Linked DNA regions of Homo sapiens: region 1 is linked to region 2. The links are contacts of gene promoters, found by promoter capture Hi-C in blood cells and fetal thymus (Javierre and others, 2016). All regions are on one chromosome and are shown on one strand. The core of a region is centred on a gene start or on the middle of the fragment in contact, and the rest is flanking DNA. Distances in the headings are between cores, read along the strand shown.

What was found. Contacts are between HindIII fragments. The CHiCAGO score rates a contact against its expected background, and 5 or more counts as called.
Region 1: a contact is called between a fragment that was not itself captured here and the fragment with the promoter of GRIK5 in region 2, in 1 of 17 cell types (naive CD8 T cells). The highest score is 5.0, in naive CD8 T cells.

The regions. Positions count from the first base shown.
Region 1 is chr19:42,330,544-42,333,855 of GRCh38, forward strand. MEGF8 (multiple EGF like domains 8) reads left to right here. Exons shown (of 42, transcript NM_001271938.2): 2 at 3,062-3,225. Among named protein-coding and RNA genes, the nearest start is that of MEGF8, 6.6 kb to the left of the region's middle. The HindIII fragment of the contact is 2,877 bases long and covers 333-3,209 here.
Region 2 is chr19:42,068,373-42,071,810 of GRCh38, forward strand. GRIK5 (glutamate ionotropic receptor kainate type subunit 5) reads right to left here and starts at 1,834. Exons shown (of 20, transcript NM_002088.5): 1 at 869-1,834. It also overlaps a transcript of ZNF574 not described here. The HindIII fragment of the contact is 24,593 bases long and covers 1-3,438 here.

The DNA.
Region 1 (3,312 bases), core at 521-3,020, 260 kb after region 2:
GGGGGCTCTGGTTAGAGCCTGAGGGAGAGCTTCCAGCTTTAGTATTCTGTCTTTTATGTATTTCTTCATTTCATCATCCAGCATTTCCTGAGCCTTTGCCAAGCCCGGGTCTGGGCAATGCTGCAGAGGGAATTAGGTCCACATCCAGGCCCTGCTCTATGGGCCTTGTAGGCTGCAGGGAGACAGACCTGGACATAGATGTTCCTGGCCCAGAGGAATGAAGGTTATAATGGGATGTGAGAACCCTGGAGAGGGGGCATCTAACCCAGCTAGGGGGCATCAGGAAGAGGCCTGGTGGTGGGAAGGGATAATATGTTGCAGACAGAGGGAGAAGCTTGTACAAAGGCCCAGCTCCCATTAGAGCTGTAAGCAGTGGGGTGATTTGAGACAAAGCGAGGGTCTGAACAGCAGGTTAGGGACCTGGACTTTCTCCTAGGGTGGTAGGGAGCCATGCAGGGCTTTGGGGCAGGGGAGGGACGGGGCCAGATGTTGAGTTGGGAAGATCAGAGACTCATGTCAGGGGAAGAAGGAGGTTGGATCAGTGGTTCTGGTGAGACAGGATGAGGCCGGGCAGCCAGGGCACACTCTGGCTCTAAGCTGGCAGGCTGGAGTCATCACCTCGTTGAATGTTCACCCCAGCCTTTGTGGGTGGGGGGAATTATCCCCATTTTACAGTCATGGAAACTAAGGCTCAGAGAGCCCATGGAACTGGCCCAGGATCACCCAGCCATTGGCAGTGGTGGCTGAGTGTCTCCAGGATCCAGATAGGCACACTGAGGGTCATGGGGGAAAGGGCTGGCCCAGGGTCCTCCAGCTGGTCATGGGCAGAGCCAGAGCCAGAGCCAGAGCCTAGGCCTCCTAATTTCCCTCACCCAGAGGACTCCCCTGAGCTGCCTGTTCAGAAGGCTTCTCATGTGGGATGTGGAATGAGAGAGGCTACCTGAACTAGGACTGGCAGAGAATAAGACAGTGACAGTGTTAGGGGTAGTGGCACTCTCCACGATATGTGGGCCCCATTGTCAACATTTCTTTTTTTTTTTTTTGAAACAGAGTTTCACTCTTGTCGCCCAGGCTGGAGTGCAATGGCATGATCTCAGCTCACTGTAACCTCTGCCTCCCGGGTTCAAGAATTCTCCTGCCTCAGCCTCCCAAATAGCTGGGATTACAAGCATGTGCCACCATATCCAGCTAATTTTTTGTATTTTTAGTAGAGACGGGGTTTCACCATGTTGGCCAGGCTGGTCTCGAACTCTTGACCTCAAGCGATCCACCCACCTTGGCCTCCCAAAGTGCTGGGATTATAGGCGTGACCCACGGCACCCAGCCTCTTTTTTTTTTTTGAGTCCCCTCTGTCGCCCAGGCTGGAGTGCAGTGGTGCAATCTTGGCTCACTGCAACCTCTGCCTCCCGGGTTCAAGCAATTCTCCTGCCTCAGCCTCCTGAGTAGCTGGGACTTGCACCACCATGCCTGGCTAATTTTTGTATTTTTTTTTAGTAAGAGACAGGGTTTCACCATGTTGGCCAGGCTGTTCTGGAACTCCTGACCTCAGGTGATCCACCTGCCCTGGCCTCTCAAAAGTGCTGGGATTACAGGCGTGAGCCACCCACCCCACTCTGTTGTCACCATTTCGTGTGCATTATTGCTCCTCATGAGGTTGCAGTCAGATGTCAGCTGGGGCTGCAGTCAGCTGAATGTTCACCTTGGCTGGACATCCAGGAAGGTCCCTCCCAGGGCTGGCAGTTGATGCTGGCTGTCAGCTGGAAGCTCAGTTGGGACTGTCAGCCGGAATGCCTGTGTGTGGCCTTTTCTTGTGGCTTTGGCTTTTCTTTGTTTTTTTTTTTGAGACGAAGTCTCGCTCTTGTCCCCCAGGCTAGAGTGCAATGGCACAATCTCGGCTCACTGCAACCTCTGCCTCCCAGGTTCAAGCAATTCTCCTGCCTCAGCCTCCCAAGTAGCTGGGATTACAGGCACCCGCCACCATGCCCAGCTAATTTTTGTATTTTTAGTAGAGACGGGGTTTCGCCATGTTGGCTAGGCTGGTCTCAAACTCCTGTCCTCGTGATCCGCCTGCCTTGGCCTCTCAAAGTGCTGGGATTACAGGTGTGAGCCACCGTGCCCAGCCGGCTTTGGCTTTTCCTATCATGACAGCTGTGTTCTGAGAAGGAGCATTCTACGAGGCCCAGGTGAAAAGTACAAGTCTTCTTATGATCTAGCCTTGGAAGTTTCAGAATTTCTGCTGTTTTTTTATTGGTCAAGCAAGTCACTAAGGCTCTTCCCAGATACGAGAGGCAGGGAATTAACTTTCAATGGCAGGAGTGGCCTATAAGTTTGATTCCACCACAGTACCACTATATCCCACTTTAGAGATGAGGAGACCGATCCAGAGGGGGTGGGTTACTTGGCCAAGATCACACAGCTGGTAGCTATTTGGTGGCAGAGCCAAGACATAAGCTCAGGCAGTCTGGTTCCAGAGTTTGTGCTTGTAACCATCACAATAAGCAGAGGTGAGACTCTGGATGGGGACAGAGGGGAACTATGCCGCTCCAAGGTTAGGCCTCTGTTCTGGGGGAAGAAGCTGGACTCTTCTCTTGCAGCTCTATTCAGCGTGGGCCAGGGGTGGTGTCACGGAGGTGCTCTTCTCACTGGGATTATGACCTTGACCCTCCAGCCTGGACATGTCTGAAACTCAGGCATGGACAGGAAGAGAGAGGCATCAGGAACACTGGATTCTGCTCTGTGTGGCCACTGGGATGGGGTTTTCTCTGTACTTAATTTTCCCATCTGAATGGTGGGAGTGTTCATTCTGATCTCAGGTGACCTTTCTAGAGGTCTGGAATATTATGATTCTTTCTCTGGGCTCCTGTCCCTCTGGCTGTCACAGCCCTTGACTGCCCTAGGTTATGAGACTGGGGGCCCCTTCAAGGCGGGGCCCAGGTCTGACTCATTCTTGAGCCCCCAGCATCACCTGGATCAGGGTTTGGTGTACAATTGTGGGAGGCTGCAGGGAGGTGTGGGGAGAAGGTCCGCTTTAGAGCTTGGTCCCTCTGTGCTCACCTCCCAGCCCCAAGCCCCCAGCACCGGATCCTGCTGGACTTCCTTTTCCTGGACACAGAGTGCACGTATGACTACCTGTTCGTGTATGACGGTGACTCCCCGCGAGGGCCGCTGCTTGCCAGTCTAAGTGGGAGCACCCGACCTCCGCCCATCGAAGCTTCCTCAGGCAAGGTTAGTGGGGATGGGGCCGTGGCAGATACACCGAGGGAAATGGAAGAAGAAAGGAGGGACAGAGAGTCAGTAAGAGGGCATCCAAGA
Region 2 (3,438 bases), core at 584-3,083:
GAAAGGCCACGCGAGGTAACACAGAAGTCGGGAGAGAGAATGGGAGTGGAAAGAGCCAGACCAGCCAGGAAAAGTCAGCATGGACCACGGAGAGGTGGGGCAGCAGCTGAGGAGGGAGGGACTGAGGAGCCGGGCACCCAGAGTGGATCTGGGGGAAAGAGGTGGAAAAGTGACAGAGGGAAGACAGCCTCCAAGCTCAGAGGCAGAGAGAGGGAGGAGGACAGGTGAGCGGAGGCACAGAATAGAAAGAGAAATGGAAAGAGACCTGCCGAGGGAGACTTGGAAAGAGGGAAGCCAGGGTGGAGGAGTTCTGACAGAGAGAGGGATCTAAACAGAGACATGCCGAGAGCAACCTGGGCTAACAGCAAAGAGAGAAGTTGGGCAGAGTCAGAGAGGGGCCCAAGAGACACAGGAAATGGGGGCTCAAAAGCGGAAAGACATATCCAGGAGATAGAGACTGGACGGGGTGGGGACAGGGCCAAGGCCCACCGCAGGCAGAGGATGAGGCTCAGAGGAACAGAAAGAGCCAGTCTGGGACCAGGACGGAGGCTTGGAGACAGCAGGGGCACGGACATGCCAGGGGCCCGGGGTAAGTGAGAGCCCAAGTAAGAGCAATCAGCCCCGTAGGACCCCAGAAAGCTAGAGGGCCAGGGGCGGCAGTGAGCTATGTACCCAGAAGAAGAGGTGAGAAGAGGTCGAGGTGAATGGACGCTGAGGAGATGGAGGGCGCAGAGCAGGCCCCTAGTGGGGGAGGGTACTTGCCAGTCCGGAGAACGGGGAGAATGTGGTGCCCCCCTGCCAGGCGGCACCAGAGCCCAGCCTTCCAGGACCCAGAACCCAGCCCAATCCCTGCCCTGCAGACACTCACGGATCCTGGTGGGACGGAGGGCTGGGCTCCCTCGAGGCCCGAAGACCGACAGCGGGAGGTGCTCTGGCGCTGGGTGGTGGTGGGGCTGGGCGGGGGGAGAGGGCAGTCCACAGGGCCCCCTCCCCCGCCGCCGGTGGTGGCTCCCAACTAATCCAAAACGGTGGCTCCACAGGAGCAGGGAGGAAGGACAGGTGGAAGAGGAGAGGGCGGGCCGGGGAGGGGAGGAAGGGGAAAGGAGAAAATGGAGGAGAGAAGGGGAGAGAGGAGAGGGGGAAGGAGCAAATGGAGGGGAAGGAGGGAGGAAAGGAGGAGAGGAAGGTGAAAACGGAAGGGGGGGGCACAGGCAAAGCCGGGGGAGGGGGAAGCTGGCCCAGGAAAGGGCCCCCGCCCCCTCCCCTAGCCGGGCCGGCCTGGGGGGGCCACAGGGGGCGAGGACTGGGTGGAGAAAAGGAAGCCGGCCATCAGGAGAAGTGGGGGAGGGGAGGGCCTGCTGGGGGAGGGGGCCGCCCCCTTTCCCCCTCCCCCCTGGAGCCTGGGCCCTGCCCTGGTTGAGGCAAGGGCCCGGAGTCCTCAAGCCCTCAGCCCCCACGGGAAAAGCATGCTGGGGGCGGGGAGAGCCCGGGAGTGGAGAGCTGGGGAGGATGGAGAGCTGGGAGACCCGGAGAGGCCAAGAAGGGGGCAAATGAGGTGGAGAGATAGGGAGGAGGGAGAGGAGGATGGAGAGGAGCAGGTGGAAGAGAAAGGCGGAGGAGGGTGGGGTGTCCCAGGGGCTCCCGGTGCTGGGCCTCAGTGGGAGGGCCTGGCGACACACTCCTGGTCCCCTGTGAGGAGCCGGCTCCAGTCCCCGGCTCCAGTCCCCGGCTGGGCCTGCCTCCCTGCCGCTGGCTGCCGCCACCGCTCAGTCTCCCCTCCGAGGCCGCCGCCTGCCTGCCCGCCTGCCGCCTGCGCTGGGTCCTGGAGCGCAGTGGGGTGGTTCAGGAGAGAGAGAAGAGGGAGGGAGGGAGGCAGGGAGGAGGGCGGGCAGGAGGAAGGGAGGGAGGCAGGCAAAGAGAGAGTAGGGAGGTGAGTCGGGGGAGGGGGAGCCTGTATTGGTTGGGGCTGGGGGCCCCCCGCGAGGAGAATGCTGATGAGAAGAAGGAGCTGCATTGGATGGAAGGCCCACCCCCGAGCCACCCCCTCTACCACACCATGCCACCGCCCTGCCCAGGCAGCCCTGGGCACAGGAGCCCACAGAGATGAGAGGCAAGAAGACCCAGGGAGAAGGCCACTGAGATGAGGGGAGAGGGCTACAGAGATGAAGAGAAATGAAGAGAAGAGAGACAGCCGTCAAGACTGTCCAGAGAAGTGGGCTGAGGCCCACAAACCCCACAAGGACAAGGACAGGAAAAGCCCAGGGATAAGAAAGAAAGGCCCATGGAGACAAGGGAGCAGCCTACAGAGACAAGCAAAAGGACCTCGGAGACAAGGGGCAGTAATGTGGACATAGAGACCTCCCGCGAAGGAAAACGGGAGAAGCCAGAGACACAAGAGAGAGGCCCCTGGAAACAGAAAGCACTCCTCAGATATGGGGAGCGGTCCACAGGGCAGGGAGAGAGCCAAGGAGAGCCGAAGAAGGTCACAGAAACAAGGGAGGCCTACAGACACCAGGGTACCAAAAAGACAAGGATGTGGCTCATAGACACAAGAGAGCCACTGAGGCAGGAGCTGCCAGCCTGGAGATGCGGGGCAAGCCTCCCCCAATATAAATAGCTCCTATAGAGGTGAGGGGATGGGTGGTGAGTATGAGAATTCCCTATAGTGCACAGAGAAATCCTTGGGACCCACAGAGATGAGTGGGTGGAGAGAAGGGGCCCTCATTCTCTAGTCACAGGAGCAGAGAGGCAGTGGGAAAGGTGGATGGGACAAGGAGAGGAAGCTGGAGGGCAGAGCCAGAAGTGGGAGACTCCTTCCCAGGGAACACCCTGCAGCCTCTCAGAAGGAGCTGAGCAGGACAGGGGGATGGAAGAGAGAAGCGACACAGATCTTGGAGTGGGGGTGGGTGGTGCATGGCTGGGTGGGGGGTGAAATTTGGGGGGAAGAAACATGACAGTTGGCGCCGAAGGCTGAGCCCGTGACTCACCACCACCCCCGATGCTCGTGATGGGGAGGAGACACTGACACACTCACGTGCGGCCCACAGCATATGTGACCGCATGCCTCGAACACACAGCTGGCACATGGCAACTCCTGGACCACATGCCAGCCCAGCACAGGAAGCCCTCTGCAAGCTGGCATGTGGGGCATCCTGGACACACATCTGACACATATATCTGACGCTGAAGGACCACCAACTTTGCACACACCTCCTTACCCCACTTGGTCAACATCTACACCGCCCCCTCAAACATCCACACTTAACTCCAGTCAGGCCTAAAAGCCCAGATTCACACCTGCCTCTGGGACTTTGCTTATGAAGGACCTCAACACAGAACACCATCCTTTCGACCAGGGCGGTGGCTCATTCCTGTAACCCCAGCACTTTGGAAGGCCGGGGCAGGTGGACCACCTGAGGTTGGGAGTTCAAGACCAGC